Regions from separate parts of the Homo sapiens genome. Here region 2 is linked to region 1. The links are contacts of gene promoters, found by promoter capture Hi-C in human tissues and cell types (Jung and others, 2019). All regions are on one chromosome and are shown on one strand. Each heading gives the region's core, a stretch centred on a gene start or on the middle of the fragment in contact. The rest is flanking DNA. Distances are from core to core; before and after follow the strand shown. Region 1 overlaps SAFB2 (scaffold attachment factor B2). Region 2 holds the start of PLIN3 (perilipin 3).

Region 1 (6,545 bases), core at 2,181-4,680:
GATCATTCGTCCATGCAGCTCAGTTCTGTGGAGATGGCTGATGCACTTGGTCGCCTCGTCAGATGTCGACATGGTGACGAATCCATAGCATCGAGCCCCCGGGCTGCGGGCGTTCGTTACCACTTTGGCCCCGACAACCTTCATGAAAAAGGGCACTCTTACTCTCTCATACAAATGACCACACAACTTGCTAAAGTTATTACCTGGCAATCAGAATCATTTTCACTATTTGTCACCTCTCCCCATATGGTAGTTTTCCATTTTAGTTACTGAATTGGTTCTAATTAATCCTGACCTATCCAAATACAATTGCTTTTTTTTTTTTTGAGACAGTTTCGCTCTGTCACCCAGGCTGGAGTGCAGTGTCGCGATCTCGGCTCACCGCGACCTCCGCCTCCTGGGTTCAAGCAATTCTCCCGCCTCAGCCTCCGAAGTAGCTGGGATTACAGGCGCCCGCCACCACGCCTGGCTAATTTTTGTGTTTTTAGTAGAGATGGGGTTTCTCCATGTTGGCCAGGCTGGTCTCCAACTCCTGACCTCAAGTGATCTACCCAAGTCGGCCTCCCAAAGTGCTGGGATTACAGGCATGAGACACCGCACCCAGCCACTAAATACAACTGCTTTTAATACAAGATAAGTCATCACAAGGAAAACACACAAACATGCAAGGTTATAAAACCATTAAACTTCATTACTCACAACTAATAACCAGAAGTCCTACCCATCCACATTGTTTTCTCTATTTCCACTGTGCCCACAAACAGCTGTGGGGCTACTAAGAAATGCACCCATCCACTCCAGCTGGGCCTGAGAAGAGCTCTGACACAGACATGGACTGTCAGAAATGTCCCCATGGGGAAAGGACTTCCACTTCTGGCTGAGATGGGAGAACTAAGCATTGTCTTCCTGCCTGAAACAACTAACAAATGTGATGAAACGTAGGCAACGACAGTTTTCAGATCCTGGACATCAGGCTGCCCAAGACAACAATCCCTGAGAGCTCCCTGACTGCCCCTGCTCACTGCCTAGATTCCCAGGCAATGGGGGATGGGTAAGACAGCACTGAGATTCTGAGACCAAGACAGAGAGAAATCACGGAACTGAGTATCAGAGAGGACACAGCCACACAGAGCCACGCAGAGCAAGCTGAAGAGACCCACAGAGGGTTCCTCCCACCCAGTGCACACGTGTGCGAGGAAACCAGAGGCTGGGACAGCACCACCCATAAGGAGCAGAGGGAACAATCAGGAGCAGAGGGAACAACCACTGGAGGGGCACTCAGGGCCACAAATGGTTTGCTCTTCCCAATAGCCAGGGTGGAAAGGCTGGTAATTCACGGGCCATCAGACCCACTACTCAGAGGGCACTGCCCAGTGGTGAGACAAAATCAGCCCAAACTGAAGGCTACTTTGGCCCTGCCTTAGTGTGTGTCCAGTACCTCAGCTGTGTCCCAGAAAAAAGCTCAAGGGTATTTGTAGAGATACAAGTATAACTAGCACCCAAAAAATACAATTCACAACATCCAGTAAAAAATTACCAGGCACAGGCTGGGCACAGTGGCTCATGCCTGTAATCCCAGCACTTTGTGAGGCCAAGGCAGGTAGATCACTTGAGGCCAGGTGTTCAAAACCAGCCTGGGCAACACAGAGAAACCACATCTGTACCAAAAATTTTAAAAATTAGCTGGGTGTAGTGGTACATGCCTGTGGTCTCAGCTACTCAGGAGGCTGAGGTGAGAGGATCGCTTGAGCCCGGGAGCTCGAGGCTGCAGTGAGCACCACTGTACTCCAGCCTGGGTGACACAGTGAGATCCTGTCTCTAAGGGAAAACAAAACAAAACAAAAAAACCAGAAGAAACTTAAAAGCAGCCACAGAAAAAGAGAGAGAAAAGACACAAATTGGTAACTGAAGGAACAAAGATTAAATTAACCTAGAATTCTATACCCAGTGAAAATTTATTTCAAAATGAAGACAAAGTAAAGACTTTTTCTGACATGCAAAAGAAACAAGAACGTATCACCAGCAAACCTGCACTACAGGAAACATTCAATTCCTTCAGGAGGGAGGAAGATGATCTCCGATGGGAACTTGGATATACAACAAAAAGCAACGAAGAGCACCTGGTGAGGTGAACATGATTTTTTCCTGTCATTTCTGGGTCTCTTTAAAATATAACTGTTTGGCTGGGCGTGGTGGCTCACGCCTGTAATCTCAGCACTTTGGGAGGCCGAGGTGGGAGGATCACGAGGTCAGGAGATCAAGACCATCCTGACTAACACAGTGAAACCCCATCTCTACTTAAAATACAAAAAATTAGCCAGGCCTGGTGGCGGGCACCTGTAGTTCCAGCTACTTGGGAGGCTGAGGCAGGAGAATGGCATGAACCCAGGAGGCAGAGCTTGCAGTGAGCCGAGATCGCGCCACTGCACTCCAGCCTAGGCGACAGAGCGAGACTCCGTCTCAAAAACAAACAAAAACAAAAACAAAAACAAAAAAAAACACAACTGTTCAAAGCAAAAAAGCCAAACCACAACAAGTCAAAGCCAATAAAATATTGGGTGACTTCTTAAAGAGAAGTAAACCGTATGACAATAACATCACAAAGATCGACGGGAGGGGAAATGCAAGTATATTCCCACAGAGTTCTTGCACTACGCTGAAACCAACAGAGCACCCCTTGCAGACAGACTGTAAGGGAAGATGTGTACTGTAATCCTACAGTAAACCACAATGACACAGAGTTAGAGCAAATAAGCCATCAGTCATAAAAAGGACTCGACCCACAAGAAGGCAGATAAATGGGAAAAAGAGATCAATAAACAAACATGAACAGAAAATAGAGAACAAGACAGTAGATCTAACGCCAAGCCCACCACCACTGGCGCGCAGAGTAAACATTTCCCCGGGACACAGGAGTCCTGGTCTCTGCCCTATCTCTGACTCAGGGCATCAACCTAAGCAAGGCATTCCCCGTCTCTGGACCTCATGGCCCCAACTGTGAAATGACAAGGTGGAACCCACAAGCTTGAGGTTCCCATCTGACGTCCTTGGTTTTGACCACACAAATGGAGGAGTCAAGGCTCTGCCTGAATCTGTCCAGGGCCAAAGGGACAGAAGACTCTCCTGAGAGAAACACAGATGCCACTTCCCATTCTACCTTCCCATCAAATTAATCATCCTTACAAGTATATCTCTTCTGATGACAGACAAAACCCAAATGAGAGCAGGCACCATACTAAGCTTGTATGTCCCTATCCCTGAGCTATGCCATCCGCCCTGGAGGCTCTGCATACTTCAGTCAAGTAGCTGAGTGGTGTCCTGCCCCTCTGGCCTTCCTACGTCCTTCTGTTTTTGTCCAGAGCTGAGCCCCACAGGTAAGGCCAACTCTGTCACTCACGCCTCAGCTGAATGTCACTTCTTCAGCGAGCTCTGCTGAAGCTGCCTCCCAAATCTAAACACGGCCTCCCCAACACACTGACGGCGTGCTCTAATATTCCTTAATACGCTCATCACAACACATCATATGTGTTTATTTCTTAAATGGTCTTTTTCCCGCCAGACTAAAAAATCTGTGATGACAGTGACCACGTATGTTTACCTCTGCTTAATCATCAGTGTCCGAGTGAAGTCAACAAAGTAACTGAATAAACAGGTTATTCATGGCTATAAGAATTTCCTAAGCCCTTGCTGAACACACAGACTGTTCAGAGAAAAATTGAACAGCACGCTTTCTCCGGGTCCTGTCCGCTTCTTAAGCAATGAAACATTAACCAACACCTGATCGGGTGACACAGACCTAGACAAAGGAACGGCTTCTGTAGCCAGAAAACTGTGTCAGACAGGGCCCACTCTGCCTGGAATCAGGGCACCCTCCAGACACTAAATGGTCCGAACCTTGTCCCTTGGAAGCCACTCCCCAGAGGCACCCAGGAGACCAGGGCAGTGCCAATTGCTTACCAGAAGACTCTTGGCTAGGCGCGGTGGCTCACGCCTGTAATCCCAGCATTTTGGGAGGCCAAGCAGGCAGATCACATAGGTCAGGAGTTGGAGACCAGTCTGGCCAACATGGCGAAACCCCATCTCTACTGAAAATACAAAAATTAGCCAGGCATGGTGGTGGGTGCCTGTAATCCCAGCTACTCGAGAAGCTAAGGCACGAGAATCACTTGAACCTGGGAGGGAGGCGGAGGCTGCAGTGAGCCAAGATCACACCACTGCACTTCAGCCTGGGCAACAGAGCGAGACGCAGTCTCAAAAAAAAAAAAAAAAAAAAAAAGAACAACAAACAAACAAAAAAAGAAGACTCTTAATTAATTTCAAACAGTGGAATCATTTTAAATTGTCCTCACCTTCCTTTGGAAAGCTGCTGAATTGTACTATTTTTCTCCCACCCCCATGAGCAGCATCTTAGTGATTTATTTTTGAACCACGATCATGTTCTAGTTATGAGACTATATACTTAAAATGCTAAATGATATGAAAGTCAATTATTCACTTCATTCTTTTTTTTTTTTTTTTTTTTTATGACATAGTCTCGCTCTGTTACCCAGGCTGGAGTGCAGTGGCACAATCTTGGCTCACTGCAACCTCTGCCTCCTGGGTTCAAGTGATTCTCCCACCTCAGCTTCCCGAGTAGCTGCGACTACAGGCACAGAACACCACGGCTGGCTGATTTTTGTATTTTTAGCAGAGACAGGGTTTCGCCATGTTGGCCAGGCTGGTCTCCAACTCCTGACTTTAGGTGATACGCCCGCCTCGGCCTCCCAAATTATTCTTAAGGGAAAAATCTCATCATGTAAGCTTTAAGTTTTGCACAAGACAAAAGACCACCAGTCTCTTTGAGACCAGTTAGAAAGAACCCCAAGAACATTGAGAGAGAAGCTGTTTATACAGCTGTTCTGAGCACTGTTGTGATATGACCAACCACCTGCCCTGCTCCGCACCCTAGTTACTGTGAGTCAGGAAACAAGGTGCACTGCACAAGACTGGGCGAGCTTCGCTGCTGTCGTTCCATTTTTTAGTAAACACAACATCTTGCTATGTTGCCCAGGCTGGTCTTGAACTCCTGGGCTCAAGCAATCCTCCTGCCTCAGCCTCCCAAACTGCTGGGATTATAGACGTGAACCACCGTGCCCAGCAGAGCTTCCTTTTTAACTCTGAATCACAGTGGATGGTATGAGGCAAGGGAAGGCATACCTTCCCATACTTGCTGAAAAGGTTCTTGAGATCCGTAGCGCGTGTTGTGGAGGACAGCCCGCTGACCCACAGGTTCCGACCAGAACCGCTGCCGACCCGACCTGGCACGAGAGGGAGATTCTTAGGCATCACCCCAAGGCCTAACAGGAAGCACAACCATTCTTAAGACCGCAGCCCTCTTTAAAAACCCTAACGACGCCCAATCCCAACTGCTGACTTAAGAATTTAACGCACACACACATGCCAACACACAGAAGGCTGAAAATCTGGACAGCAAAAACTGAGTTTCCTTACTCAAGGAATAATCATGCCCATGTCAGTTATGAACTGAAATGTCTTTTGATGATCAGATCTCATCCAAGACGGCAGTCTCTAAAATCCTTGAAACAGTCTTCAATGAGCAGAATTATTCCTTTCTTGTAATGTGCTTTTCACCATCCCATAGATGACAACCACAAGAGAAACATAAAATGCAGGTGCTTGCGAACTTCTAAAACTAGTCTCTCAAGAAACCATTAGGTGGTTGATTCCGGTAACCCATAACAAAACAAATTACTGAATCCAAAGTGTGTATATCTCCAGGCCCCTCCTCCCAAAATAAGGGAACCATACCTGGCTCCCTACCACGTTAAATTAAATCATACCTTTTTCATCTTTAATGATTGGCTTTATATCTTTTTCTTCCTTAAAAGAGCTAGAGACAAAAGTTAATGTTACTCATACAGGAAAAAAACGAAAGAGAACAAAACTAAAAATATGATTATGTGCTAAAACTGAATACCTACCAGAAAATTAGTCTGAAATAAAATTTTAACAGACACCTCTGCAAGCTTATATTGGAAAATCTGACCCCAAAAATACAATGTCAGATTTGTAAAAGTCAATTCGATTTAGCTGAAGATAACAATTAACAATTTAAGAACACAACCATGGTAGGTTGAGAAAAAGAAAAGGAATTGAATCACCCATTAAAAACACACAAAGAGAAACGAAACATTCTTTAGAAGCAAAACTACAATTTCGTCAGTCTGGCTGGCCAATTGCAGAAAAAAACAGCTTATGTGTGTCATTACATGACCAATGAAAAGGAGATAGCGTCTGGTCTAAAACTGAGAAAAAACAAACCTCATTTTCTGATCAGCGCCCTCACTGGTTGAGGACTCTTTAGGAGCCGGAGGGACTTCATTACAAGCGTCAAAATCAAACTTCCTCCCGTCTTCTTTGCTATCTCTGGCTTCTGGGCTTGGGGCTTCCGTGGGTGCTTCTGCGAGCTCCTCGCTAGAGGCCTCCGCGAGCTCGGAGGCCGCACTACTCTGCTCAACTGCCGGCTCTAGCCCTACAGGCTCACA
Region 2 (6,545 bases), core at 2,959-5,458, 740 kb before region 1:
TGCACTCCAGCCTGGGCAACAGGAGCGAAACTCTGTCTCAAAAAAAAAAAAAAAAGAGATTTAAATGTAACTCACATGGGCCAGATGTGGTGGGTCACACCTCTAATCCCAGCACTTTGGGAGGCCGAGGCAGGAGGATCACCTGAGGTCAGGAGGTGGAGACCAGCCTGGCCAACATGGCAAAACCCCGTCTCTACTAAAAATACAAAAATTAGCCAGGCGTGGTGGTGCACGCCTCCATGTTTAGTTATCCCAGCTACTCAGGAGGCTGAGGCAGGAGAATCGCTTGAACCCAGGAGGTGGAGGTTGCAGTGACCTGGTATTGCACCACTGCACTCCAGCCTGGGTGACAGAGCGAGACTCCATCTCAAAAAAAAAAAAAAGAAAACAAAACAAAACAAACAAAAGACTAAATGTAACTGACATGACATGAACAAAGATCTAGTCAAGGGATAAAATGTGTTAAATAGGGCAAACTTTCTTCTCTTTCTTGAGACGGATTTCCGCTCTGTCGCCCAGGCTGCAGTGTAGTGGTGCGATCTTGGCTCACTGCAACCTCTGTCTCCTACGCTCAAGCAATTCTCCCACCTTGACCCTGCAAGTAGCTGGGACTACAGGCACGCACCACCACACCTGGCTAGTGTGTGTGTGTGTGTGTGTGTGTGTGTGTGTGTGTGTGTGTGTGTGTGTGTGGTTTTGTTTTTTTTTTTTGGACAGGGAGTCTTGCTCTGTCATCCAGGCTGGGGTGCAGTGGCGTGATTTCGGCTCACTGTAACCTCCGCCTTCTGGGTTCAAGCGATTCTCCTGCCTCAGCCTCCTGAGTAGCTGGGATTACAGGTGTGCACCACGTCTGGCTAATTTTTTGTATTTTTAGTAGAGATGGGGTTTCACTATGTTGGTCAGGCTGGTCTTGAACACCTGACCTCGTGATCCACCCGCCTCAGCCTCCCAAAGTGCTGGGATTACAGGATGAGTCACTGCACTCAGCCGTGGTTTGTTTTTTTTTTTGTTGTTGTTGTTGTTTTGTTTGTTTGTTTTTTAGTAGATGGGGTTTTGCCATGTTGCCCAGGTTGGTCTTGAACTCCTGAGCTCAAGGGATCTGCCCACCTTGGCCTCCCAAACTGCTAGGATTACAGCTGTGAGCCACCGCACCCAGCCAAAATTTAGGCTTTTTTTAAAAAGTGAGATAACATGCCTGCCTGCACCGCAGAGCTATGAAGTCCAGGTCAGGGGTGTGGGGAGGACGGGGTTCCCCAGGTGAGTCTATGTAAGCGGGATGAAGCCACAACTCCCTTTTCCTGGACTAGTGAAATGAAGCTGGGACACCATCATCAGAAGAGATTCTCAGGGGGAAGCCAGGAGTCCCAGCTCCACCTACGCTATGCTCCCTGGAGCAAGGCGCCTTCCCCTCCTCTGGCCTCGGTCATCTTACCTGTAATATGAGGCTAAAGGGTCGGGCATGGTGGCTCACACCTGTAATCCCAGCACGCTGGGAGGCTGAGGTGGGTGGATCATGAGGTCAGGAGTTCAAGAGCAGCCTGGCCAACATACTGAAACACTGTCTCTACTAAAAATACAAAAATTAGGTGCGGGTGTGGTGGCGGGCGCCTGTAGTCCCAGCTACTTGGGAGACTGAGGCAGGGGAATTGCTTCAACCTGGGAGGCGGAGGTTGCAGTAAGCCAAGACTGCGCCACTACACTCCAGCCTGGGTGACAGAGGAAGACTCCATCTCAAAGAAAAAAGAAAAAGCCAGGCATGGTAGCTCACGCCTGTAATCCCAGCACTTTGGGAGGCTGAGGCGGGCAGATCACCTAAGGTCGGGAGTTTGAGACCAGCCTGACCAACATGGTGAAACCCCATCTCTACTAAAAATACAAAAATTAGCCGTGTATTTTGGCTGACACCTGTAGTCCCAGCTACACAGGAGGCTGAGGCAGGAGAATTGCTTGAACCTGGGAGGTGGAGGTTGCAGTGAGTCGAGATCGCACCACTGCACTCCAGCCCGGGTGACAGAGGGAGACTCCGTTTCAAAAAAAAAAAAACATGGGGCTAAAGGTCATGCCTGTCTTATGGGCTGCTTTCCTGGGGAATTCTGGTGTGAGCCTAAGAACCTGTGGCCTTGAGTCTGAGCATCTTTTCCCAGAGGAATGAGGCCCCACCTCCTGGTGGCCTTGCTTCGATGTCCCCTAAGCAGAACCCAGCAAAATGATGATGTTTTGCAAGCACTAGATCTGGAGTCCAGATTGGGTTCTTTCCATTTTTTTTTTTTTGTTTTTTTTTTTGAGACGGAGTCTCGCCCTGTCGCCCACGCTGGAGTGCAGTGGCGCGATCTCAGCTCACTGCAAGCTCTGCCTCCCCGGTTCACGCCATTCTCCTGCCTCAGCCTCCCGAGTAGCTGGGACCACAGGCGCCCGCCACCACGCCTGGCTAATTGTTTGTATTTTTAGTAGAGATGGGATTTCACCATGTTAGCCAGGATCGTCTCGATCTCCTGACCTCATGATCCGCCCGCCTCGGCCTCCGAAAATGCTGGGATTACAGGCGTGAGCCACCATGCCCGGCCTTTTTTTTTTTTTGAGACAGAGTCTTGCTCTGTCGCCCAGGCTGGAATGCAGTGGCGTGATCTCAGTTCAGTGTAACCTCCATCTCCCAGGTTCAAGCGATTCTCCTGCCTCAGCCTCCAGAGTATCTGGGAATACAGGTGCCCGCCACCACGTCCGGCTAATTTTTATATTTTTAGTAGAGGTGGGGTTTCACCATGTTGGCCAGGCTGTTCTCCAACTCCTGACCTCAAATGATCCGCCCACCTCAGCCTCCCAAAGTGCTGGGATTATAGGCGTGAGTCATCCTGCCCAGCCCAGAATGGGTTCTAATCCCAGCTTGGCAACTCACTAGGAATAGGAGTTTGGGAAGGCAGCATCCCCTAGGAGTCTTGCTTGCCACATCTGTGAAATGTGTATAAGTGTTTCACAAGAGCCTGGAGTCCCTGTGGACTGGAGGAGACGCTGCTCCGGGGAAGCTCAGATCCGTGCCCGGCACATAGTAAGTGCTCCATAAACTATCTCACCGCACTCTGGCTTCCACGGACAAAGGGGTAAAGCCAGCCAGGAACCAGCTTCCTGCTAGGTACAAAAGTCCCCCAACTGGGAAGTCAGGTGAGAAGACATACCTACCTCCCAGTGATCATTGCCTAAATCTGTGCTTCTCCTCACCTCCTTTGGAGCCTGAGCTCACCTGGGCAGGGGGCCAGGTAGGCAGGCATCAAACTCCTGGCCTCGACCGATTCTCAAGTCCCACTTAGGACTCAGGCAGCTTCCTCCCGTCCCCTCTGTCCACCATGACTTCCTGGAACTGGTTTAAGCAAGGGTGGCCATGGCAGATGTCAACACCCTATGAAACCCCTGGGGGTCAGTGACCTGCCTTGCCGCTGGCTCCAGAAGGGGAGCTCCAGGCCAGACCCAGCCATCCAGCAACTTCAGAGCATGCTAAGACTGGACTTCCAAAATTCCAAGGGCCCCAGGTCCCACTGCCAGGCCTAGCCGGGACAAGAACCCCAAAGCAGTTAACGGATAGGCCTTCCTACTTTTAAGCCACCTCGTCGCCACGCCCACCCGAGGGAAGTGGGCAGGCTTTGCCCAAGACCTCCCCAGAATCAGTTGGGGGCGCCAGGAGCTGGGGCAACCCCCACCCCCACCCGTGGCAAAACCATCTGTAGGGGAGGGGGCTTTGCGGTGGCGGGGGGTGTCTCTGAAAACCCCAGAAGGGAGGGCGGAGATTCTGCCCGCAGGAGGAAACTTGCCTGCAAATGGCGTTTCCAAAAGCAAACTGTTCAAAATTTAGAGAAAACCTGGTGGGCGGGGGGCGGTATTTAGCCCACCCCCTTCAATATCACCCCTTCTACGGGGCTCTTTCGCCCCTCAAAAGTCCCAGGAAGTGAGAAGAGGGTTTCAAAGTCTGAGCTTCGTTGCAGAAGTTGGATTTTTCTGGGGGGAGGGGTGACCAGCCTGGGCTGAAGACCCCTCCCCAGGCCGCAGAGTCCAGCAAATCCCACCCCGAGAAAGGCCCTCCCCGACCCCTCCGGCCCCTGGGGTGCCCCAGGACTCCATGGACACCGCCCCCCAGCTCAACTGAGACGCCCCCGCCACTCACCGCGGTCAACCGGACGTCCCAGGAACAGCTGCCGCGACTTCAAAACCAGCTTGGAAACCGTCCGGGCCGAGGCGGGGGTGGCTTTTACTGCGTGGTAGGTTGGGGGCGCACTGGAGTGACGGGCGAGGGGACCAATCAGGTTGAGGGATTGCCCGCGCCAGGCCCGCCCCTCTCCTCCCTGCCCCGCCTCCACTAGGCCCCGCCCCTCGCCAAGTCATGAAGTCCGGGAAGGACTCCACGCCCTGCCCCTGAAGGGGAGGGAGCACTCTTGGACCACGCCTGTCCCAGCCACGGGACCCCCGCTCCGCAGCTGGGGACCCTGTGAAGTTGGCCCTGGGAGGTGAGTGCGATCGGGGGCGCCGCACAGGTGCTGGGATTCCCCAGGTCGCCCATTTCCCCTATGGCCAAACTGAGGCTGCGAGAACCCTGGGAGAGTTGCAGGGTGACCCTCGCCAGCGCGTCAGGGGCCACGCCCTCCACCATGGGCTCCGACTCAGCTATATGTACACACACACACACACACACACACACACACTTTTTTTTTTTTTTTGAGACACAGTCTCGCTCTGTCGCTAAGGCTGGAGTGCAGTGACGCGACCTTGGCTCACTGCAGCCTCCACCTCCTGGATTCAAGCGATTCTCCTGCCTCAGCCTCCTGAGTAGCTGGGATTACAGACACGTGCCACCACGCCCGGCTAATTTTTTGTATTTTTAGCAGAGACGGGGTTTCACCATGTTGGTCTTGAACTCCTGACCTCAAGTGATCTGCCCGCTTGGGCCTCCCAAATTGCTGGGATCACAGGTATGAGCCACCGCACCCGGCCCAACCCAGCTATATGAGTGACTTGAACCACCACGGGAACTTGTCCAGCCTCCGGCCTGATCTGCCCAACATCAGACCACTTCATCCTCCCAGCACTGTATTGTCTTTTTAATCATCCCTATTTTGCAGAGAAGGAAACTGAGGCCTGGAGAGGGTCAGCCAGGGGCAATGGAGGGGTCAGGCTCCAGGCTCTGTGACTGCTGGATCAACCTTTTCCTGAAGCTGCCCCCACTTGGATTTTACCCCGCCCCTCTCCACCTCCCAAATTATTTATCCTCTTGGTCTATAAACCAAGGTCTCAATCTCAGATGGTCCAGGGAGGAGGTGAATATTTCTGCTGAGGAGGTGGCAGTGATGCCCTGCTTAGAGGGGCAGGGGAGAGCAGTGCCCTATGGGAGACCCACCTGGAGAGTCACAGATCCACAGGAAGTTCAAGCTGTAGACATGTCCTGCCTGTTAGGGAACAATTGGACCAAATGAAACCCAACTGGGGCTTTGTCCAGCCCAGGGGCCACCAGTTTGCCACCTCTGCCAAATTATTTGAATAGAATGAAGCTTCTGGTAGCTTTAGAAAGAACATGGGAAAAATTGGGTGTCTGTGACTGCATTTTTTTGGGGGGGTGAGTGGGGACAGGGTCTATGCTAGCACTGTCCAATAGAACTTTCTGCAATTCTAGAATTGTGTGCCATCCAACATTGTAGCCAAAAGCACCACGTGGCTAATGCACAGTGAGAAGCTGAATGTTTAAATTTTTTTTTTTTTTTTGAGGCAGAGTCTCGCTCTGTCTCCCAGGCTGGAGTGCAATGGCGCGATCTCGACTCACTACAACCTCCACCTCCCGGGTTCAAGCGGTTCTCCTGCCTCAGCCTCCCAAGTAGCTGGGATTACAGGCGCGCGCCACCACACCCAGCTAATTTTTGTATTTTTAGTAGAGACGAGGACTAACCATATTGGCCAGGCTGGTCTCGAACTCCTGGCCTCAAGTGATCCACCTGCCTCGGCCTCCTAAAGTGCTGGGATTACAGGTGTGAGCTACCGCGCTTGGCCTGAATGTTTAAATTTAAGTAACTTCAGGCAGCTAGTGAGATTCTCAAGTGAATCTGAGACCCCATTCCATGACATTTGTAACAGGCTTTTTCCTTCTCATTCACTCATTCAACCATATTTATTGAGTCCTTGCGCTGGGGACAGCGGTGAGCTAAACAGATAAGAATTCCAGCCCTGGTGACACACACTACCCAGTGGGAGAGACGAACAAGGAACAACATAAGTGAGAGAACTTTACAATGTGTCACGTGGTAGGACAGCAAAGGACGAGATGAATGTGGGGGATGCGGGGATTTTGTTCTTGTTTTTTGTCAAAGAGTCTCACTCTGTCACCCAGGCTGGAGTGCAGTGGCACGATCTCGGCTCACTGCAACCTCCGCCTCCCAGGTTCAAGAAATTCTTGTTCCTCGACCTCCCAAGTGGCTGGGATTACAGGCCTGTGCCACCATGCCTGGCCAATTTTTGTATTTTTTTTTTTTTTAGTAGAGACGGGGCTTCACCATGTTGGCCAGGCTGGTCTCGAA

The links. Contacts are between HindIII fragments. The study calls those that stand out against the background at their distance.
Region 2: a contact is called between the fragment with the promoter of PLIN3 here and a fragment that was not itself captured in region 1, in 2 of the 25 tissues and cell types used here (dorsolateral prefrontal cortex and heart right ventricle).

The regions. Positions count from the first base shown.
Region 1 is chr19:5,604,799-5,611,343 of GRCh38, forward strand. SAFB2 (scaffold attachment factor B2) reads right to left here. Exons shown (of 21, transcript NM_014649.3): 7 at 6,322-6,545; 8 at 5,841-5,890; 9 at 5,197-5,297; 10 at 1-138. Among named protein-coding and RNA genes, the nearest start is that of SAFB2, 15 kb to the right of the region's middle. The HindIII fragment of the contact is 3,966 bases long and covers 1,448-5,413 here.
Region 2 is chr19:4,863,459-4,870,003 of GRCh38, forward strand. It overlaps PLIN3 (perilipin 3), which reads right to left and starts at 4,209. Exons shown (of 8, transcript NM_005817.5): 1 at 4,151-4,209. RefSeq lists enhancers at 3,177-3,526, 3,469-3,969 and a silencer at 4,187-4,366. The HindIII fragment of the contact is 15,856 bases long and covers 1-6,545 here.